Regions from separate parts of the Homo sapiens genome. Here all the other regions are linked to region 1. The links are contacts of gene promoters, found by promoter capture Hi-C in human tissues and cell types (Jung and others, 2019). All regions are on one chromosome and are shown on one strand. Each heading gives the region's core, a stretch centred on a gene start or on the middle of the fragment in contact. The rest is flanking DNA. Distances are from core to core; before and after follow the strand shown.

The links. Contacts are between HindIII fragments. The study calls those that stand out against the background at their distance.
Region 2: a contact is called between a fragment that was not itself captured here and the fragment with the promoter of MPDZ in region 1, in 1 of the 25 tissues and cell types used here (dorsolateral prefrontal cortex).
Region 3: a contact is called between a fragment that was not itself captured here and the fragment with the promoter of MPDZ in region 1, in 1 of the 25 tissues and cell types used here (mesenchymal stem cells).
Region 4: a contact is called between a fragment that was not itself captured here and the fragment with the promoter of MPDZ in region 1, in 1 of the 25 tissues and cell types used here (heart right ventricle).
Region 5: a fragment that was not itself captured here is called in contact with the fragment with the promoter of MPDZ in region 1 in 2 of the 25 tissues and cell types used here (dorsolateral prefrontal cortex and mesendoderm cells).
Region 6: a contact is called between a fragment that was not itself captured here and the fragment with the promoter of MPDZ in region 1, in 2 of the 25 tissues and cell types used here (dorsolateral prefrontal cortex and lymphoblastoid cells).
Region 7: a fragment that was not itself captured here is called in contact with the fragment with the promoter of MPDZ in region 1 in 4 of the 25 tissues and cell types used here (IMR-90 fibroblasts, dorsolateral prefrontal cortex, mesenchymal stem cells and 1 more).

Annotation. Positions count from the first base shown.
Region 1 is chr9:13,278,405-13,281,764 of GRCh38, forward strand. MPDZ (multiple PDZ domain crumbs cell polarity complex component) reads right to left here and starts at 1,288. Exons shown (of 47, transcript NM_001378778.1): 1 at 996-1,288. RefSeq lists enhancers at 1-195, 196-911. The HindIII fragment of the contact is 5,465 bases long and covers 1-2,872 here.
Region 2 is chr9:14,103,951-14,107,356 of GRCh38, forward strand. All of the region lies in intron 10 of NFIB (nuclear factor I B), which reads right to left. Among named protein-coding and RNA genes, the nearest start is that of LINC00583, 180 kb to the left of the region's middle. The HindIII fragment of the contact is 3,850 bases long and covers 1-3,251 here.
Region 3 is chr9:12,699,203-12,702,295 of GRCh38, forward strand. TYRP1 (tyrosinase related protein 1) reads left to right here. Exons shown (of 8, transcript NM_000550.3): 5 at 3,069-3,093. It overlaps LURAP1L-AS1 (LURAP1L antisense RNA 1), which reads right to left. Exons shown (of 4, transcript NR_125775.1): 4 at 797-1,424. Among named protein-coding and RNA genes, the nearest start is that of TYRP1, 7.4 kb to the left of the region's middle. The HindIII fragment of the contact is 8,728 bases long and covers 1-3,093 here.
Region 4 is chr9:12,718,179-12,721,702 of GRCh38, forward strand. The region is part of intron 3 of LURAP1L-AS1 (LURAP1L antisense RNA 1); the gene reads right to left. Among named protein-coding and RNA genes, the nearest start is that of TYRP1, 27 kb to the left of the region's middle. The HindIII fragment of the contact is 5,784 bases long and covers 1-3,524 here.
Region 5 is chr9:14,085,638-14,088,784 of GRCh38, forward strand. NFIB (nuclear factor I B) reads right to left here. Exons shown (of 11, transcript NM_001190737.2): 11 at 1-2,689. The coding sequence ends at 2,672. Among named protein-coding and RNA genes, the nearest start is that of LINC00583, 160 kb to the left of the region's middle. The HindIII fragment of the contact is 5,711 bases long and covers 1-3,147 here.
Region 6 is chr9:14,211,434-14,214,816 of GRCh38, forward strand. All of the region lies in intron 2 of NFIB (nuclear factor I B), which reads right to left. Among named protein-coding and RNA genes, the nearest start is that of NFIB, 100 kb to the right of the region's middle. The HindIII fragment of the contact is 3,827 bases long and covers 1-3,207 here.
Region 7 is chr9:14,187,795-14,191,138 of GRCh38, forward strand. The region is part of intron 2 of NFIB (nuclear factor I B); the gene reads right to left. Among named protein-coding and RNA genes, the nearest start is that of NFIB, 120 kb to the right of the region's middle. The HindIII fragment of the contact is 4,047 bases long and covers 1-3,318 here.

The DNA of each region.
Region 1 (3,360 bases), core at 38-2,537:
CCTCTACCTCCCGCCGGCGCCTGGCCACTTCTCCTCCCCCGCAGTCTCCGCTTGATTTCCATGTGACTGCAGGCAAGAATAGCCCAGCCTTTGTGCCTCTGCAAAGAACGCAAACAAAAATGTACACCATCACCACCCAACAAACGCGCAACTCCGCAAGACACAAAGCGTCTCCCAAACATCGCTTCCCTGGTAACATCCGGCATCCTGGGGCTGCCAAATCGCAGACAAAGACGCCCATCAGCGCGGGGGGTGAGGAGACTAAGGGAGAGACAAGACCAACGTGCTCCCACCAACGGGAGCGGCGGTTAAAAGGGCGCCGGTGCCAGGGGTGAGGGACGGGGCACCGGTACCAATTAGCGGCTCGCCTCGGGGTCCCCGCGGCTAAGGCGAGAACGCAGGACCAGGAGCATTGCTGCCCACTCTCTACCGCAACCCGCACATCCCGGGACCACGTAACGGCGGATGGGGCGTCCGGGAGCGGCCCCTGCAGGGGAGAGCAACAGGCTCCCGCGCCCTGGAGGCCTGGTCTGCGCTCCGGGCCCCCAGGCTAACACCCCACCCCCAGCCCCCCGACACCAAGACTGTGCCCCTCTGGGTCAAGGAAAAGGAAAAACTTTTAAACCTCTTAGTCAGCGAGAGCAAAAGAAAGGGGTGGCGGGGGTGCTGAAAGGTCTAGGATTATCCACCGCGGGGCTGGGGGGAGTGGAGACTTGCGAGTAGCAAAGGAAACTTCTAGACCCCATCCTTTTAAAAAAGCCACAGCAGCGGCTTCCGCGAAGCGCCGGGCCGCGCGGGGTGGGGCAAGCGCACCGCCCCACCGCCCCACGGCCCGCCGCCACCCCTACCCCCACCCCCACCCCCACCCCCATCCCCGCCCCCACCCCCACCCCCAAGCGCCGAGCCCAGGGCGCCCGCGCACCTTCCCCGCCGGCGCGCGCGCAGGGCGCGGGGGCGCGCCTCGGCCTCTGGGCCGGGGCTCAAGCGCCGCTTACCCGGCTCGCGGCGCCCGCCCAGGGCCGCGACGCGAGGGGGCGGAGGACTGGGGAGCAGGGGTCGCCGGGGCCTCTGGATGCCTCGCCTCGCCCACGCTCACTGTCTTCTCTTCTGAAGTAACGACCCGGCGAGGAGCTTCGGATCAAAACGCACAGACACTCACGCGTGACTGAGAAACTTAATCCCGCGGTGGCCCGACGCCAGCCTAGCGCTCCGCCGCGCCCCCTCCCCCAGCGCGCGCCGCACTTGCGCCGACCGGGGCTGCCGCGGAGGCGGTGGCGGGGCCCAGGCTGCTGGGGCTGCCGTGACGCCTGCGACCGGCGGGGCGGCGGGCGCGCCTTGGCCAATCAGGGGACGCGGCCGAGCAGGCCTGTGCGGGGTTTTAAACTCGCTCCTGGGCCGCTCGACCTGGGGTGTGGGTAGTGGACTTGTGAGGTGGTCAGATAAAATATAGGCTGCTCTGTTAAATGGGAATTTCAAATAAAAAAAAAAAGGAATAATTTTAGTACAAGTATATCCCATGCAATATTTGGGACGTACTTATGCTAAAAAGTTCTTCGTTGTTTATCGGAAATTCAAATTTAATGGCAGTCTTGTATTTTTATCTGCCGATTTTGTCAACCTGCGGAAACTGATAGCCTGTTTCTAGCTCCTCAGATTTTCCTTATGTGCACTGCCCTGTGGATGCTTTCTGCATGGGTAGCTTACTGAATGGCATAGGATGCTTATGAGAAGCGCTTTAATCAGAAGGGTGGGGGCAGTCCTCTCACTTTCTAAGTAACTTTTCGCACATCAGGGTGCATTCTTAGTCTGATGATCCAATTAAAAAGCAAAAACAGTAAACATGGAAAAGTTATTAGAGTTGCATGGCCCCAGGAAGAACAGATATTCATTTCTATTTTGTGCCACTTAAGATTTTCTTTCTGTTATCCTCAATTTGGAAGTCCCACGAATTTTTTTCTGCATAAGAAACTCTTTTTCAAAATATCCCTCTGATATTAGATTATAGGACCAAAGGATACTCAGAAGTCCAATTTAGAACATTTAAAAGAATTTCTTTTAATATTCTGAATAAAAATACTTTTTTCTCATATTCCTTGGACTTTCAAACACATTCACAGCTGTTGACCTCTCTCTTCCTAGAGTCCTCCCCACCCCACCCCTCTTGTAATTCCATGCAATCACACTCTTGGTTTTGCTTCTTCCGCTTAGTCAAGGGCGGATGTATGGGCTCTGAAGCTTGTACAATTGGGAGCTCTGCTTTAACCAAAAAAAAAAAAAAAATCTTTCTTTAGAAAAATTCAAAAAATAAATGCCCATGTAAACACATTGCTAGGGTTGCTCCCAGGCAAGAGAAGGACCCGGAACGTTAAGCTACATCAATTTCCAGGTAGATCTGCCCCTGTCCCCAGGCCACTCTTCAGTCTTCTTTGCCTCCTCTCCCCCAATCTTTAGATGCTGGAATTCCTTAAAAATCAGTTACGGGCCCTCTTTTCCTTTTAACTCTTACCTCTAAATACATTTTCACTTCTAGCTTATGATCTCGTACCTACAGAATCTTACATTTATACCTTCAGATTTATCCATATATTCAAGTGTTTATTTGGCTTCCCTGTTTGCTTGTCTCAAACCTAGATTGCAAAAAAAAATGCAGCCGTGATACTTCTGCTCAAGCCTGGTCATCTTGTTCAGTGTCCCAGTGAATGGAACTGCCATAGATGCTACATGATTCCCACAAACTACGATAAACCCATTGTGATGCATTCTTATGGTACCCTATGCTTTTGCTTCATAATATTTTTCCTACTTTGTAAATATGCATTTGATTTTGTAATTATGCAATGTCTCTTCCCTCTTCAACCATAAACTCCATGAGAACAGGGGCTAAGTCACCATTTTATCCTCAGAGCCTAGTAAAAACTTCACACTTGGTTGGCACTCATATGAAATAGGATGAATATACGACTGCAAGAATGAATAATTTCTCCATATAACTTTTGTGTTCTTGTCATAGAGTCACCTCAAGGCATCCCATTTGGAAAGGATTTTCTTATTGCTTAGAAATTCCAAAGGGATCCTCCTGTTTGAATAGCACTTCTACTTGTCAGTTTTCAAATCTGGTCATTCTCAAATACAAAGGAAGTACGTGCATGAAATGTTAGCTGCTGGGGTAGTGTAGGAGGAAAAGAATTTCATAACTAGCTACTGAAGGAATTCTTTGAGTCCTAAAATTTTAAATGGCATTTTTTATATTGAACCATAGGGAAAGAGCCCATAAAACTGAATTAGAGGAAAGTTTTAGAAATTTAATTCCCTGGTTTATTGTGGATAAATGAGATTAAAACAAATAATTTTACCTTGGTT
Region 2 (3,406 bases), core at 77-2,576, 830 kb after region 1:
TTCATCACCCAGGCTGGAATGTAGTGGCACCATCTCAGTTCACTGCAACCTTCACCTCCCAAGTTCAAGCAATTCTCCTGCCTCAGCTTCCCAAGTAGCTGGGATTACAGGAGTGTGCCACCATGCCTAGTTAATTTTTGTTAGTAGAGATGGGGTTTTGCCATGTTGGCCAGGCTGGTCTCGAACTCCTGACCTTGAGTGATCCGCCCACCTCAGCCTCCTAAAGTGCTGGGATTACAGGTGTGAGCCACGGGTGCCTGGTCATAAATACTCTTAAAATGGACCAAAATACTCACATGAAGGAAAAAAAAGTACACTTTGCTTTGTTTTAAATCAGATGACATACTTTCAATATTTCAAAGAAGTAAATGTGTTCAGTCTAGCGGGAAGCAATATGGCAAGATTTCTTAAAAGTTCTCAAAATGGGTCGTCTAATCAAATTTAGTGTGATGGGGCAAATTGTCTTCTGTTTTTTTTTTACAGTTTTTTTTACTGTAAAAGTTTTAAAAGTACAATGAAAACAATCAAAAAACAGTTCAAGAAACTTGGCTTTGTATAACAAGAATGTTAATGATTTATCACTTACTGATTCTACTCTAGTCAATGAAAATGGAAGGGTTTTGTTTAATTTTTATTTGTTTGTTTTTTGAGACAGGCTTTCCCTCTGTGGCCCATGCTGGAGTTCACTGGTACGATCATGGTTCACTGCAGCCTCAACCTCCAGAAATCAAGTGATCCTCCCACCTCACTCTCCTGAGTAGCTGGAATTACAGGTTCGTGCCACCATGCCTGGCTAATTAAAAAAAAAAAAAAATTGTAGCGATAAGATCTTGCTATGTTGCCCAGGCTGGTGAAAATGCTAGTTTTGAATCAAACATTTGGAAGAGGGGAGATGTATATTTAGGCATAGTACATATTAATTATGTTAATTATTAACTTCAGATTAGTATCTATGGGGCTCTCAGCTTAGGTTGGAGAAGTTTTCAGAAAAATAATATGCTTTCACAAAGCCAGGGGAATCTAAATACCACTCACTGATTGCTTATTGTCCCACAGACAACTGTAGGACCACATCTCCTCAGAAGGATGTGTTGTAAATGAGTTAGTTTTTTTGTTGTTAATGTTGCTAATATTTTGTCTGTTTGTTTGTTTTACGACCCCCAAAAATGTCAAATGGGCTATCTTTGACCATATGCTGCACACATAAAAATGAACGTATTTTTGGACTTTTCTTTTCTAAAAGTAGTCCCAAAGTGGATAAACCTGACTACAGCTATTCATTATCATCTATTTAAGATATATGCAATAGAAATATTTTCTCCCAAACAGAAAAATATGCTTAAGTACATTCAAAATAAACAACAAATATATTTAGCAATAATTTAATGCCAAATAAATTGGCAATATATTAATTAGCATTGAATTTCCTTTTAGTTACTAAAAATGTAAAATATAAGAAACTAATTTATCTGTTTAGATTGTGCACTACCATTACAACATTTCTTGAACTTTCTGAGGAGACACGCTATAACTTAAGCCAGGTTACTTGAGCAAGAGCCTCTCTCTTCATGTTGGTTTTTTTCAATTAATAAACCTTCTTGGTCATAAAGCATCTTGGAACTAACAAAACTCCCTGATAAAGTGAAATTTTAAAGTGATGGTATGGGTGGGGGATGCAATTAAATCATTAAAATAGAAATCACTTATTCACCAAAGATTTCCATGATAGTAATTCCTAAGAAAATCAATTTCTAATCTTATTTGACCAAGATATTCCTGACCAAGCAAATTGTGAACAGACTCTATATATTAAAAGGTTAATACTACATGTATTTAAGCTTCTTTTGGGGTCATGTTACATATTCTTGCCTTTAGCATAATTCAGTTTTCCTAATAAAAAATAATTTTACATTAGGCTTTAAATAAGTTTAACATAATAGGTGATAATCTTTTTTGAGTTTGGGGTGGTGATTCCTTAGTTTCTGTCCTGTGACAGAATCAGTGTTAGGTAATTCAGCTGTAAATTCTCTTTTTTTATTTTAAAACTTTAATTTTAAGTGGCACATAAATACATGCCTTTCATTTATATAGAATTTTTCTAAGTTCAAAGCTTTAAGAATGCTGTAAGAATTTTTCCAAGTATTTTTTATTAAGAAATAGGAAATTGCTTTTTTCTCCCAATAGTAATCAAATTTAAAATACCAAGTGCCACTCAGTTTAGAAATTCAGTCTGTTAGAATTGTCTGTTTTCATGTGGAGGTGGGGAACAATTCTTATTTTTGTAACAATATAGACTCTCAAAAAGAACTGATCATATGCATATCCTTACAAAAATGCACACTCATATAAATCATTTTAATCCTTTAATTTATATGCACATACCAATATGAAATTCTATTGTCTAGAAAATGCCCAGAATTTCAAAACCAAATAAAAGGTGAACTAAGAAAGTAAGATTATCTTCCAAAAAAGCTATCAGTAAAGGGGGAAGGTTGGAACAGTTTAAACAAATAAGAAAGATGTGAAGGTGAAGTTTTCACTGCATATGTTCTTAGGGTGGAGTTCTGTGGTCTCTGGAAAGAGAACCTTGTTCCTGGCCCAGTTCAAATCAGATTGCTTCAAAGAAAAAAAGAAAAAGGATAGGGGCCATCTGGTTCCTCTCAAATGGCTACATAAAGGGGAAACACCTAAGATTTGGATCATTATCCTTTCCTAAACTACACTCAAATAATCATGTAAGTAGCAGATAGCCATAAAGAATTAATATTGCTTGTGACTTCAGACTAATAGTTTGTTTATTCAAATGGGGGTCCTCCTTTGTTATTAACAGGGTCTTTTGTTAAATACACAGCAATTAGCTTTGGGAACAAAAGAAAGAAGGTAAGCAAAATGTTCTATTTTGCTAGACTCAGCAAACAGGCTGAGGTACTAACAGTTCCTACGATGACAACAAATCTCAACTGAACCAATAAACCATTAAACTGTGAACAGAACAATCAACACAGGCAAATTTACCTTCTCACTTTTTTTTCTTTTTACGTTTACAATGGCCCTCAGGAGAACATCTTGAAAGGTATGTTTTATGTTTTCTTGTGTTTCTTCATTTCTCCAGACCCTCAATGAAACAGATTTTTAAGGGGTGAAGGCTCTTTTTGCGGTGGAAAACAGATGCTTAAAAGGATTAACACTCCAATATTCATACTTTGGATTAGGAGAATTTTATTTTATTGCTAATATTAATTACCTACATGGAGCAAATTAAATGGTCTCTGGATGAATAGCATGTAACCTCTGAAGGAATGGTATGAACAAGAAAAATGGTCAGAATAAAATTGTGTTGTATGTTTCACATACAACACATGCAAAAAAAAACAAACAAACAAAAAAAAAAGATACTCAAGATCAT
Region 3 (3,093 bases), core at 310-2,809, 580 kb before region 1:
AGTGAACACAGTAAGAGTACGCCTAATCAGTTGTCCCAGCATCCTTTCTCCAGTGATCTGAATGCCACCACTGTCACAGGTCAAGTTTCTGCCACATGTAGATCTCTTCCTGAGCTTTCTGTTCTCCTCCTTGGATCATATTATTATTTGTGCCTGTGGTAGTAACACAAGGTTTAATTATTAGACACCCCCTACCTCATCTTATTTTTCTTCTTCAGGCATGTATGGCTCTTTTGATTGTTCTTCCATATAAAAATAAGAGTTATGTGAATTTGTTTTCTTATTATAATCACCACATACTTATTCTACATGTATTATTTTATGCATCAAGTATTATTTTATGAACTTAAATAAGAAATACTCTAAATAAATCAGCAGGAATTAGATACATATTTTCACCATTAGATTATTTAGCAATGTATAGGAATAAGAGAAGTGATAATATATGAAAATTTCCTCTGTAGAAGTTTAAAACTTAGAATAAATTTGTATTTGTTTGGTATGCTGAATGCATGATCCCACCTTGTGGCAGAGAACTGAAATTGAGGATCAGGATGTCTGCAGATGCCAAAATGTTTATACTCTTTGTGACCAGGCCATTGTATTTTGGCCTGAGAGTTTTCTAGACATTTCCCAATCACCCTGATGATTGGATACCAAAATAAAACACAGTTTAAATGAGTGAATGCAATCATAGCACAGGAGGGGGAAGAAAGAGGAAGAGATTTTCTTTTCATCATAATTTTTCTTGTCAATTAATATAACAAGTCTCCTAACTCAGACACATAGTCTCATGACAAATTGAAGAATATTTATTTTAGGTTAAAATATTTTTAAGATTATCCCTTGTCTCACTGCAAGAGATAAATGGCAGACATTTTATTTATAAGGCAAAGGAAAGGGAAAAACTATCATTTTATTGAACATATATTATGTATCTGATATAGTATGAAATGCATTGATATAGTATCCTATTTAGTCTTCATAACAATTCTCTCTTCTATTACTGTTCTTCTTTAATGATCTTGTCCATTTCTGTAGTTCCATTCGTCATCTTTTACTGGAGACCCACACGTTTCCACCTTTAGATAAAACCTTCTTTCTTTAAATATTCCATACCCATGTCTTCACATGCTTGTTGCATAGTATTTCTCCAATATTCAAAATTAATGCGCCAAACTTGGTGGATTGAAAATAGTTAATATTTTATTGCAGCTAACGTTCTTCCAGCCACCAAAATACCATCTTTGAATCAACATAGAAAAACACTGTTCTTTATTCACAGTACTTCTCAAATATATTTTCTTCTTCAGACATGGGCAACTTTCCATTTATTTTTATGTGGAAATTCCACAGGACTTTGGTCCATAGGATGTTAGGTGCAATGGCAGAGTTTGTCCATATGCAAACAAATTTAAGAATCACTGGAATAAAAAACAAACTGGTTTATTTTTTATATAAACTAGTTTCTTTACTGTCAGCATTTTCTACAATGGAACTCTGTGAGGGCAAATTAGAATGTAATGTTTTGAAACTCAAGTAATTAATATTTGTTTCTTGGGATTTATTGATAGCTTCCTGAGCAGTAATCCCCAAAACATCAGCTTGAATTGATAGTCTAGCTAGTGATGGTGAAAGTTTTGGGTGATAATGTACACTCAATAAATAGTTTCCAATCCCACCTGAGGCATATGTTTTAGTTACATATTATTTAAATTTCATTATGCTAACTTAACAGGTTCTGATTATTACGTTAATTATAAAGCATAGAACATGGGAGGCTTTCTGAATGAAGGAAAAGGAATATGAGTTGAAGTTGTAAAATTATCTCTCACCAGCTTAGTGGATTGTTTTGCTTGTCCCTTTACGGTACATATATTCCTTTCTGGAGACCACTGGGACAGAATGATGCAAAATTTTCCTAACCAATCACCTCTCCTCCCACCCATCTAAGGTTTTGACTTCTCTCCACTTCCTAATAAATCACACATAACTTTCTTATCTTGATACTTGATTTTTTTTTCACAATATAGCTCTGGTCTAGCTTCTTTTCTTTCCTACAGTCCACTACTATCCTGGCACATACTCCAGGCAAACTATTTCCCAAACAGGCCCTCCCCCTTTTTTTGTTTATTTTACAGCTAACATGATCTTTTCCATATAATGACAGGCACCAAACAACTCTTCAGCACCTATTCAATGCCAGGTACTGTGCCAAGTCTGTGGGATACAAAGTTTTTTTTTGTTACAGATAGGGGGTGTTATAGACAGAAGAAAGTGTATCATCTCTTGCCATTTCCTCTGCCTAAAATGTTTGTCTTGTAAAATTTATTTCACCTAAGAAAATTTTTCTTAATCCTATGGGGCTTTGTGTAAATCTCTCTTCTTTATAAAGCCTTTCTGGAGATCTGACTGGGCAGGATCTCTCTCTCTCTTTCCCTGCTCCCTCCCACCATCTCTCTTCTTTAAGGCTCCTATCATATTATCTATCCCTAGTATCACAGTTCTTTGTTTGTTACTGCCCTTCACAAAGTTTCATTATTTCTCACATTAATTGCTGAAAAAGTTGAAAAATGTGTGTTGGTTGACATATGTATCACTTTCCAAAGAAATGTAAGGGTTTTTTTTTCCTTATTTCTCTGAAGGTTTAAATAGACAGCATTTGCATACAAAATATCACATATATGTGACATAAAGATTTTAGTGTAGAACTAGATTTATGAGATTATTTTGGCAAAATTCAATTTTCCATGGAATTTTCATTTTAATACATTCTTGTGGAAGAAGCATATATTGATTTAACAAATATCAACACCTGTATCTGTTAGTGTGATTCTTTTTTTTCCTTCAGATACTTTTATGTATCTCATATCTACTTGATTCAAAGAAATGGGACATGGTAACTTAGATTTTCTCATTTTAATGCTACCAAGTATGCATTTTTAAATTTTCTTTTCTACCAAGGAAAACCTATATTTCATATTCATGCTATGTATAAAGTTTTAAAGAGCGACAATAAGAACTCCAAACATTGTGTAAATGTTTCCACATCCCATTTTTTTCTGCAGGCACCGAGGATGGGCCAATTAGGAG
Region 4 (3,524 bases), core at 1,002-3,501, 560 kb before region 1:
GCAAGTTGCATTACTTCTCTAAGCCTGTTTTCTTTATCTGTAAAATAAAGGCGGTTCTTACAAAATAGTGATTTTTAGAACATCAGAAGTGATAATGGTAAGTATATCTCCCAATACCTAAAATGTAGTACTTGCTTAACAAATTTTAACTTTTATTCCTAGAATAATGAAAACTTAACTCTTTCCAGCTACCTCCTTAAAAAAATGATTTGGAAAAAAAGAATTTATCTCTTGGTTCCCAAGTTAAATCTCTTGGTTCGTGATACCATGTTGCACACGGGTTTCCATCTGAACACTCTCATCCCACTGCCATTGAAGGGCATGTCACAGCTAATTATCTGTCATCACGCCCTGTTGCATAGGCAGTACCTTGCCTGCTGCTGCTGGGACCTCAGTGCTGTCTGTTGATTCATTTGCATTGCCTCCTGAGTGTCTCTGCTGTGTATGGATCACACAGAATGAAGCTCAGGGGCCAACTGGCAGGCCCATCTGAATTGTGGAACATATCTAAGTCCCCTCCTCATTACTTAGTGAGTAATGTGGGGGATGTTCCCTGGTTCACACACCCTGGCAGTGTAAATGGTCATCTGCTGCCTCATCTGCTTCTCCGCGTCTGGGGTGCAGGACCAGATCGGCTGAGGAACTTTGCTAGCACTTATGCAAATAGCTGTGGGAGCTCCTGGGTTTGGCAACATTCCTTTCAGTAGCCTCATTTGTGGCTGCGCCGTCTGCCTCTTTTGTGCTTTCACAGCTTTGTGAGGCAAGCTCAAAATAGATCTCTCCCATACTCAAGTTGTATTTATGTCCCTTTACCATGGAAAGATTGAAACCCTTCCCAATACGTTTAGTGCTCCCTGTTCGGTGTCTGAGTGACTGTGATGTTTCAATTTAAACTCTAAAAGAACATGTATTTGAGGCAAAATCAGACTATGCATATCTAGTTCTGATTCCCCAAATTAGACTTAAAATATATAAATAAATTCTTACAGCATGTGTAGACATAGAACAAGTCCCAAACTGTTAGGCATATATGTATAATACCATAATTTTGTTCCAATACAAACTTCATTCTTTCAAATAAACTGCATAATATATACTTGTAAAAAAATCTGCCTTCAATTTATTTTAAAAAATTATCTTCAAACTACTGACTTCAGAAAGTAGCTGTGGCCATTCAGAACAGGGCATTACTGAGTGACAAGGATACTGTTTAATCTTGGTATGAATTCTTATTTCATTAAAGGATGAGGTTTCTTAATTTTTCCTTCTCTTTCCTCCATATTACTCTATACCTTTTACTATGAGATACTCCTATAGAAACTAAATTTAAAGTCTACCTAGAAAAGAAAAAAAAAAAAAAAAGCATTGTAAATAAGCCCCAGCCATGAGAGTTTTATCTATCTACAAGCGGCTGTAAGAACCACTGGAAATAAATGATACCTAAAGCTGTTTTCCTCTAGGTGTCAGTATACTCCCAGAACTTTTAAAGCTTAGATTTAATGAAAAAAGTAGGAGCACAGTAAAATAAATGTTTACTGCTAGTCCATACTATTTATACATTTGAAAGATTTTTTTTGAAAACTGAACTAAATTTGCCACTATGAATGTTCATCTGCAGATGACAGAATAGATTTTGTACTAGAAAGAACAAGATATGGCTATGATATATTTCTACAAACACACATTGTTTTTTCCATCTTTTTTTGGCATTGGAAAGCCCTATCATTCATTATTGGCTATCATAAGTTACCTTGTCCTGTGGACAGACATTAACATTCTAAAATTTCAATAAACTTTGTAGATAATTATTGATACCCATTACAATAATTGGGCTCAATTTAAAATGCTCATTGGCAGGAAGTCTTGCATTATACCTTTATCACCAATGGCGTAGATTTGTTTAATTAGACTAACACAGAATTTTTAAAATAACACAAGATACAAATATGTTAATGAGTGTGTGACTGACATTTATCATAACATGTATTCTATTAAAACACTGTCATCCACATTCCTCCAGTCATAGAGAATCCTTCTCTATTTTCTCTCCAAATTAAGTTTCCTGAGGAGGCTGTGTATCAACTGGATGACTCCCAGTGATCAAACCAGGAAAGTAATAGTGACACGCCTGCACCGATAGTTTCAGTGTATTTAAGAAATTCATTACGCCCTATTTTGTAATTTTTCTCCAAGCTTTATTTTGAAAACTGTCAAAGCCCCAGAAATCTGAAAAAGCAAAGCAAAACAATGAAGACTTGTATAGACTATTTATTTCAACAGTTGTGAATATTTTGTGACATCATATTTCTCTAAATAAATACCTTGACATGTAATTTAAGCAAAACATGTTTCTGAGGAGATCATATAAATTATTGTTAATCAAAATCTCAGGTAATGTAAATAGCTCTGTCAGTTTTCCATGAAGCCCTCAATCCAATTCTTATATGACACACAAGGAATGTATGGATAGATGTATGTGTCTAAATTCCTGCTGGTATGATTGTAGTCCTCAAAAAACGCTGGAGATCTGGATCAGGTAGATAATCACATACAGAGCAATCAGGAAGCAAAGCCAAGTTGATAGGATCTTTGAGATCCTTTTCAGAGCTCCTACTTCAAAGCCAGCACAATCCCTACCCTCCGAAGAGCCAATCAGTGCACTTTACGTCTCATATCTCTACCATTACTCTGTTACCTGAGCAAAGTCTGAAAACCACCACTGGAAAATTCAGAAATATAATTCTAATGACCTCACAGATAAACCTCTCCAATTATGGCAAAATCAGGTACCTCTCTGATCACAGACAGGAACTTAGAAATAACTAAAAACTAAAAAAAAAAAAAAAAAAAAAAATTACCATGATGGAAGTGACTCTGCCAACTATAATGGATGAATATTTATTCATTTCTTAGTTTGGATGGGTGACAAATTATTAGCCTTTCTTAGGCACCAACTCTTAGTCTACTCAAGTTTCTTCCATAACCTTATGACTAACCTAACTGATCATGTCACTCTCATAGTTCAAGATTAAATTTCATCTATCAGTGTTCTCCAGAGAATAAGGTTGGGACAGTGTCAACTTTTTTTGAGACTTTATTTTGTACTTTGTCAAAACATTAAATAATTTTAATTCTGCTTAAGTAAATTTTTTTTAAGAATATCTTTGAAGATCTCTAGTGAAATTATTTTATAAGTTCAAAGTACTGTTTTAGTTTTATATTTGCTACTGTAACAAATTACAACAAACCTAGTGGCCTAAAACAAGACAAATTTATTTTTTTCACTTCTGAAAGCTGTTTTTACAAAGTCACCGGGCTGACACCCATGCATGGTCAGGCCTGTACTGTCTCGGGAGGTCTTTTTCTTTGCCTTTTCTAGCTTCTACAGAAAGTGTCATACCTTGCATTCCTTGGTTCATGGCCCTTTCTCTATCTCCAAAGCCAGTAGGATCATATCTTCTCTGACTCTGCTTACATGTCCTTATGTCACATGGCCTTCTTTGCCTCTGTCAAATCTCCCTCCA
Region 5 (3,147 bases), core at 499-2,998, 810 kb after region 1:
TAATCTATCAGTCCAAATACATTCAACAATAGCAACCCTCTGTTCAATCTTCTGGATATTAAAAAAAAATCCAAGTGCACTGCCATCCATTTGAAGTAGTAAGTCACAGGTAAATCATATCCTATCATTAATGAAATGAAATGGGGACGAAAAGTGGCAGAAAAGGAATACGGGAGACTCCCTCCAACAGGTCTAATGTGTTTTCTAGGAGAAAGAATATTCATGTGTTAAACTCTCAAAAGTGTTAAACATCCAACATCCCCTATGTGGACATTTCAACAAATATTTTTGCCAAATATGAGACAGGCTCACTCTCCACTGTGGATCTGGAACTTTCAAGAAAAACTATCACCAAGCCAAGTCTGCCTTTTTAAGCCAAGTCTGCCTCCAGGAGAATTTGTTGTGTTTGCTTGTTCTTACTATTGTGTTGTTATGAAAACCAGTAATGAGTTCAGCTTGCAACCCAGGTGGGAAGTTAGAGAGGGGAACCTGTGTAAGTTGAAGTTTGTCACAGTAGGCAGAACAGTCGCTTTGCAGCCCAGGCCCATCTCAGGGTGCACTGCTTCACAGCTACACTGCAAAGTGTTAAAAATCCTCCCACCCACCCCAGAATATATATATATGTATATTAAAAAAAATCCCCTGTCCATCTCTCAGTACACAAAAGGACCTCATCACACTGCAAAAATAGCAGTACCCACTTTGGTCAATTAAAACAAACAAACAAACAAAAAAGCATACATTATTTTTTTTTTAAATCTGTGTACTTACCTATAATAACCAATACAGCTAAAAGCACTACCTACATAGGCAAAACTTGGTATTGCATAATTCGTATAAATTTGAAACCCCTCCCCCCCAAATATTAATTGGAAGATGAAAAACATGAAAGGTTAATAGAAAAAAACACCAAAATACTGAAAATATTGCTGGTCGATTACAATTTTTAAGCGGCAACTATACACAGCCATGATATGCTTTATAAATGTGAGATAAAGGTATAACTGTCTAAAAAATCCATGATGTCACACATTTTTCTTCGTCTGGAGTACAAAATATTTTGTCATAAAAATGGTAAAGATTTAAAATGATAATAAATGCAGCAAAACAAGTGTAGTGATGTCACTTTGTTGTATTTTTTTGTTTTTTTTTTTTTGTTTTTTGTTTTTTAGATTTCAAGGCAAGGCACGTAATGTGGACATTATATCTTCGTGCAAATTAGGATTACTGGAAAGAGTATTTTTAATTAAAATTTTAAGAGACATAGAGGCAAAATGTGTCTGCCCATGCACACTATGGATCTGTCAATACAAGAAATTTGTTGAACAAGGCTAATGTCTGAAAGCACCATGCAAGTTTTCAGCACCCTGATTACATTTGTTTTCTCAAGAGTGCGTTTTTATATCCTACACCCTGGCGTTCCCAGTTTGTAAACTGTAAGCTTTACCCTTGTGACATGGATTTGCCTGCCTCTTTGTCTCTATAATGCAGATTTTATAGAACCTTTTGTACACCCTATGGGTTCTTGATGCAACCAGTAATTTTAAATAAATAAATTCTACCTCCAAGGAGGCTGCAGCTAAACCAACATAAGTGCTGTGTTTTCATTAATTTTATTTTTCTCAAGCACATGATTTGTCTTGATTTAATGCCTTTTTAATGCCCTCAAAAACTGAGGGGAAAATAAATTCGTTCAAAATTATTTTAAATTCTTTTTAATCCCCTCAATTTAGAGTCCAAGGGCTGAAGGACTTATAATCATGATTCCCCTTTAGATATAAATTTATAAATTGCACTTGCCTCTGTTAAGTGTTTCTTTTGTGGGGAAAATATTATATTAATTTTTACTGTTGCATGCAGAGAGAACACTTCACCTACATAGAGGCATTTCTTCCATAGAGCCTTTGTGTTCAAACTGTTTTTTTCCTTTTTTCTTTTTTTCCTTTTTTTTTCATTTTTTCTTTTTTTAAGATTTCAAACTGGGTTACACACTGGAAAAGGCTGGGTTAAGGGCCGAAATTTAATAAATCTGTACTGATAACTAAAGGCTACAGAGATTTCATATATTTTTTTTAACTTTTAGAAATCAGAGTGCTTATAAAATGGCTGGCTCATGGCTCTGTCACCCAGCACCTCTGACGCCGCCTCCTAGCCTTCGTTGGTGAGATAACCAGGAATAGTGATTCCATGCGTAAACAACAAGAATACTAAACCAATAAAACTAGCTTATCATGCAAATATTAAGGCATCTAGAAAGTCAGTTAAAATATATTGTCATAGAGACAGAACATCTATTTCCCAGCGGACTTCATGTAACAAAGGCTACGTTGCAGGGGCTGCGATCTACCATCAGTGAAATATCATCGACCCTTTTTATGTCATTACAGTTTCAACCTTAAGGGAATTAGTGATTGTAAGTGCTGCAATTGCTGGTCTATTATCTTCTTTCTTCAGTTTCTTTCCTTTCTGCCTTTGTGTTGTTTTGTCCAGTCTTCCTCTTTTCCTTTTTTTTTATTTAAAAAAAAAATTTCTTAAACTATTGTTGTGTTTCTTTTTCCCTCAGTTGCTTGTTTCTGCTTGAAGGAAAGGTTCTCCAATTATGTTCAAACCGTAATTTTGGACATTGGCCGGTAAGATGGGTGTCCTATTTGACACTTGGAAAGGAACCAAGCTAGCCCAGGTACCAGGACTGTTGAGAGGAGAGAGGCAGCAGGGAGGGAAGAAAAAAGAAAAAAATACAATGTTAAAATCTACAACAATATGAGAAATATAAATTCCAGATGCATCAAATTATTGCTATCCCTATTTTCAAAATTACAGTCTAATATGAGATAAATGTGCCAAATTATACATGTTACACCTATCTAAACTCTATAGTCTATTTTTTAAATGAAAATTAAGACTAAAGTGAGGCAGAAAAATCCAGAGTAAGATATATAAACAATTATTGAATTCTAACCGATTGAGGATATTCTAAAATATTTTACATTAATCAATATAAATGCAATATCATTCTTTTTTGTACAGGAAAAAAAAGAAAAAGAAAAGCAGCAATCTGTTGGTACCAATATACTTTGCCAGTTACATTCTAATCTTATTTTACCTTTAATTCACAAGCAATTCAGTGGTCAGATGGGTTTCAATTTC
Region 6 (3,383 bases), core at 44-2,543, 930 kb after region 1:
AACAAAGTTAAAAAAATAATTCTACTCACTTTAAAATGACACTGTGCTGAAAAATAATGAGAATAGATAAAAGCTTTGACCACTCCCATTGTCTACCTTAAAAAAATACTAGTATAGTTACTCAAGGCACGGAACTGGACAAACTGCAATTTGAATCCAGAAGACAGAATCCAGAGCCAGGGACAAAACAAGTCAAAGGAGTTGGTGACCAGGGCAATGGCCAGAAGTTTACCCGTTTATATCAGATTCTGTGCCATCCACCCTGCGGGGCCGTCTGAGCTGTGCTTCCCCAGCTGGTGGGCCCCTCCACGTCAGCCCTCTCGTAGACTCCAAAAGGAAATCAGAGTTGAACAGTATAGCATATTGTTATTAAAAGTGATTTGAGTTGTGACATGAATATTGTACTTTCAATAAAGGAGGTATACACTTTAGAAAGCTCTTCAGCCTCTAGAAAGAATAGACATTTAAAAGATTAAAGCGTTTAAAGAATGATCTCTCCACTGACCAGAATACCCACATCAAAATAATGTACCACTGGGTTTTATTGGTAGCTGCAATTTAGCCCATATGAAATGGAATATGGCCTTAGTGTTAATGCAAATACGTTGCCATTTATCATAAAATAAGTGTCATCTCTAAAGGTAACTGGACTTTCCTTAAAAATGAACCATTCTAACATGAAAGAGGCATAAATTAATAAATCCCTGAGAAAGCCTAGCCTACGGCTGTAAGGAACATCTAACTGCTTAACTGGGCAACCAAAAGACTCATACAAATAATTAGAATACTTATTTCCAATTGATGAAAGCAAAACTACTCCAATTCACATTAAGGTTGATGAGTCACATAAACCACTCACTGACTTAATTTTACTTAGAAATTGCTCATGCACTTTTGTTGCTTTCCTGGAAGGTTATACAAATGATTATATACTCATTTAATTATTAAACTGAATGATCTCCTTAAGGGCAACATTAAACATACTAAAGTACAGTACACCATGTCACAATGTGCTTAAGTATCCCTACTAAAAATAAAAATTAAAACAAGGTTAGAAAACAACTAACAACTAGGTTAAATTCAATCCAAAATATAGATTTGGGAATTTCTAATAAAATTGTCCATATTGTTTGAATGGGTTCACCACTGAGTAATAGTGTGAATAATTTAGGTAATCATCTCAAAAGGTTATAATTCCTCTGGGAAAAAAAAAAAACATGTTTAAAACTCTACACTTACAATATTTCACATAATATAATTAATAAATGTTTGCTAGATGATTGGATTTAAGTTATATGATAAAAAAATACTGCTCACACTTATAATGCTTTAAATGCTTTACAACTTACAAAACACTTTCACATAAGCCACCTTACGCTAACAACTGTGTTAGGTAGATATTACTATCCCCATTTCATAGATAAGGAAATTGAGGCTCACAGAGATTAAATGTTTTACCCAAGGTCATAGCCCTAGTAAATTCACTGCTTAGAGAATAATTAGCTTAAGTTAAGATAACAGCTACTTCCTGCTTCCCCATTCCAGTCTCAGAGACACACAAACACAATATGCATCACATATAAAATGTGATAAAATCAAAAATTATACATCAATCATGTTTATGCACTACATTATTTGCCTATTTCCATTCGTATTTTTGTAAGCGCTGTTTCTGAAAGGTAATATAGCATATAATTACACCTTTCTTTTTAAAATGCTATGATAATCTTCTCACTGCCTGGGAAGTTTCCATGGCAGAAAGACTGGGCACAGTCAGGTAACTGGTATTTCTTGATTACCATCCACCAGTAGGTTGATCTTTGGAAAGTTACTTATCTTTGGAAAGTTACCTATCCACCAGCAGGTTGATCTTTGGAAAGTTAACGCGGGCCCCCAGGTTCCTTGTTAGTCACATAAGGGATCTGTAATAAACACTTCCTAAGTCAGGTCCACCATCCATTCTCCACAGCAGTGGTTCTTAAGCTTTAACATGCACAAGAATCACCCAGAGAGCTTGTCCTAACAGAGTTTCTGGCCCATCCTCAGAGATCTGATTTAATAGGTCCAGATAGGGCCCATGAATCTGCATTTCCCAGAAGCTCACAGGTCAGACCAGTGCTGCTGGTCGTGGGACCAAACTTTGGGAACCACTGCTACACAGTAACATGGGAAACCGAAATACTTCAGAAAATGAAAGTCTGATGTAGCTTCTCTCCAGAAGCCTTCAGTGGTTTCCCCATAGCCCTTAGCATAAAGTCCAAAGTGCTAAATGAATAACAGTATGTGGACACCCAGGTCTCCACCCAGATGCATTGCTCAGGATCTCTTTCTGGGCCTTTCCTGATACCCCAAGCTGCTGGGCTGAGTTTTATGTCCCTCATCTGTGCTCTTAGGAAAATGTGTTCCCTGTGTCCTAAAACTGTAAGGAACTGTTATCACATGCTTCCTTGCCTCTGTTCTCAACATTCCAGAAGTGGTTTGTAAACATACCCCCAACTCCCACTGCTCCAAATTTAAGGGGGGAAGAGTCCCCTCATTTCACCTCACATCATTTTACTTAAGAATCGATGCCACCTTCGGGCTATGCATCAGGTCTCGTTTCCAATATTTCTAGCAGAGCCCTCCTCAACCCTTCTTTATTACTCCCCACTCTGCTCCCCAAATAGGCCACATCCTAGCCCCCCATTAATTCCCCTTCCTGAAGAAGCGACAGAGATAAGGAAAGCCCAAAGAGAGAACCTGCACTTCTCTGAGCACATCCCTGAATGAGGCACCAACTTCCCCTTCCCCACCAGCCTGCTCTTCTCCTCACAGGTCCTGAGCATGCTCAAGGATCTCAAAGCACACAGGGCCAGTGTCAGGAGCATGGACCCATGCAGTCACATAGAGCCCCACTTACGTGGTCCCCATGCTTGGCTTCATGCTCTTCTGTCACCATCTTGAAACTCTTAATTTTTGAACAAGAGGCCCACACATTAGGGAGCTGGTCCTGAAGGCAAATTATGGAACTGGATACATCTCAGCTCCTCAGCAAGCACACATTACCACATCCCATTTTCACCCACACTATCTCAGCAGCACAGCTCCCAGCAGCCTAACAGAAAAGTCACGCTTTCCTCTAAGAAACTGCCATACTTCCTTCCTTCAGAGTAAAACAAAATCATATTATGGATTGTATCATGCTTTTTACATAACTACCAGGAAACTTTTTAAACACATGATGCTAATTTAGCAGCCAACATTTTTGAACTTCATGGTCTATAAATTTGTACTGTTTCCCATATTTTCAGTCTCTGTTTCTATTTTCTTGGTCCTGACTCTCTTTTCCATTGGAAATTCATCATTTATTTTACTGAATATGAATATCCTGCTGAGAGCTGTTT
Region 7 (3,344 bases), core at 45-2,544, 910 kb after region 1:
ATCATATATCAAAAAAAATCAAAGCAAATCATTCTACCACAGGGGACTACTAATGAATCCCCTGCAAATATGAAACCCTGCACAAAAAGTGTTAAACCTGCCAACATCTCTGACCAGAGGGCTGTGGTACTTCATTAAGTAGTACCAACCCACCCCCCACAACAATGGGAAGCTAGGATAATCATATCTGACCTTTCTGCCCTAACCTAAGATTAAGTTCAATGACTTCCTACTGATCTAGGGATTGAGTGAACCAAAGGTCATAATCAGGATCACCTACAGTTCTTGCTTTTGAAGGCTTTAACCTACAGAATGCAAAAACACCGTACTGGTCATTGTCAAGATTGCTGACTTTCTACAGTGTGTTTTCAATTAAGTAAATAAAATGTGGTAATTAAATCAAGATTGCATAATATGTTTTTGATTTGTAATCTTATTTAAATTAATTAACTGACTCAATCCTTGCTTAGTTTTTAAACTGGTCGAGTTAGGGAAAGAGTCCCTGGGAGCAAATCCAGTTTTCTATCTTTAAAAACAAGGCAAAGCAATCTGGCATACTTAAAAATATACATTAAATGCACCAGCATAATATAAATACAGAGGCAAGGGTGCTAATGTAGAGGAGGGAAGAGTTTTATGGCACGATTTTGACTAAAAGAAATAGCTCTCGCACTAGAGAGAAATAAACTAAAACATTATTTATTCAAAACATTTCTTTTCGAATTTTATGAAGATTGCATATTTGTTGGAAGCAAAACATTTCCAGCTGTATTTTAAGTTTCTGAAGAGGGTTGTAAGATTTATAATCTTTCATAAATGCTGCCCATATCTTATAATATTAGATGAACACGCCACTGCGTACTTTGAGGAACAATTTGCCAACGCAGTTTGCCACATGAAAATAATAAAGTCCTTTCCAAAACCCAGCCAGATCCAGTAGGAAAAGATGAGATGAATGTTCTTTCTTTTCCATCTGGGAGACATTTTGGATTTCAGCTATACTATGTAATATACATTTTTTCCCCTTGGAAACCAAGAAACCTGCATTTTACAACAAGGTATGTAGTGCAAAGAAAATGCTGGTGAAATAAGAATCTGAAAATGAAAACCAGAATGTCATCAGACTCAAGAACATAATCATGAAGGCAAATCGAAAAATCAATGCAGAATTTCAACATAAAACAAATGCAATGTTTATGATCCTATTAGTCTTAAATTTTTCTCTTAAAAGGAAAGCATAGAAAAATAAGTGCTGTTTTACCTCCAAAGTCCTGAACAGCATTTATGTTACTACCTAGCACCATGACTTACATATCTGGTTTATCCTGGAGTCTTCACGCATTATTCTAAATCCCACACATACAACACTCCTGTGTACACATGGCCCCTCTGTGCTATGTCACTTCATGTATTTTCCCAACACTTAATATATCTAGGTTAAAATCAGACATAAGACTTTCTAATATTTCATTGGCAATCTTTCTTCTCAGGGAGCAGGACATGTTCTCTCCAAACTGCCTGGAGAGTCAGGACTCTGGGCTCTATCCGGCAACTGCCAAGCACTAGCACGCTGACTCTAAGCAAACCATTTCACGCACGAATCAGTTTTCATCTTGCCCAGTGGCAACTAGTTAATGAAAGGTAAGAGTTTAGTCTTAGTTGTTTTCAAAGGAATTAGAAATACTAGGAAAAAAATAATTTCACACAACAGTGAAATATGCACAAGTATTTTTGTGGAAAAAGGCTATGAGATATATATATTTAATGTTCTTTAAGGTTTAATTAGTACTCCTCCTCCCCCTCCTAAAAAAAAAAAAATCCCCACCTACTTGGTTGCACTGCCCCTTGCAAACGCTGACAACACAGGTAATTGAAGGGCTGGGTTAGAGTGCAACTCTTCTGCTACATTTTAAAACCCATGGGGTCAAGAAACATGTTAGTCTTATTCACTGCCCTAGCATATTCCTGGCACATACTAGATGCTCAATCAGTATGTGTTGAATGACTAACCACTGTTTTACAGAGAACAAGATGATGACTGGTAGCAGTTAAAACAGTTCATCTTCCTTAAATTACAAACAAACTGCCAGTAATACCAATCATAACTTTCAGTTTTTGATTATTATCTACACATATTCTAATTTTTAAGTTTCTACAACCTCTCTACAAATACAAATGTAGTGATTGACTCAATGACCAAAAAGTCATATTCTTATTTTTTCATTGCTCATTTTTTCATAGGCATATGTTCCTAAAAAATTTTTTAAATTGGATACAGATTTCTCTATCATGTTAGCTAAAAAGATACTTTGCCAAATCATTAAAATGTTTATGTTTATATCCTTATGTGAGCTTAGAGAGAAGAAACTGGATGGGTTTTTTATATCTTATGTTACTTACATGTGATTAATAACCAGTCCTTGTTTTATTATTAAATTATGGCTCTTAAGTCTGTGATACTATATTCATATAAAAATAAATGTATACATTTAAACTCAAGATGCATAGCAATTAACTGGATAACAGAGTAAGATGATGCATAGCCTACTTTCTACAAAGGTAAAGTAGATTTGTACGTGGGGTATTCATTACTGCTTCTGTTCATAAAATAACTTTATCAAAATATTAGAGGAAAAAAATCAGATAAGTCATCTGATGAACAGGAAGCTTGCTGATGTGGCAGATAATAGTATTAAATGTCCTAACAGTTCCTTGATAAGTGGTTCAAAGAACTTCTGTCCCCATGTTTTCAAGGCAAAAGTTAATATACCAGGAATAAAACTACTTGAATAATGCATCATTGAACCAACATTTTTGAAAAGGGATAAAATGAGGAAACAAATGAGGAGACAGTAATTTCCTCTTGCAAATTAAAACTGTGCAGGCAAAGAAAGGAACTCAATTATACTGATAAAATAAAAACAAAAAAATAGCTGACATGATTTTCCTTTTTGTAAAAAGAGAAGGTCAAGAATATTCTAATAAGTGAAATAATGGGTTTGAAAGAACTTTGAAAAGTTTACAAGCTCACAGAGACATGAAGATGGGGCATTTTATGGGGCAATATTCTTTCAAACAGTCACTTAAAGAGAACAGTTTAAAATACAGATAATCCTGGCCAGGCACGGTGGCATATGCCTTTAATCCCAACACTATGGGAGGCTGAGGTGGGTGGATAACCTGAGGTCAGGAGTTCAAGACCAGCCTGGCCAACATAATGAAATTCCATCTCTACTAAAAATACAATAATTAGCTGGGCGTAGTGGTGGGTGCCTGTAGTCCCAGCTACTTGGGAGGCTGAAGTGGGAGGATCACCTGAGGTCAGGAGTTCGAGACCAGCCTGG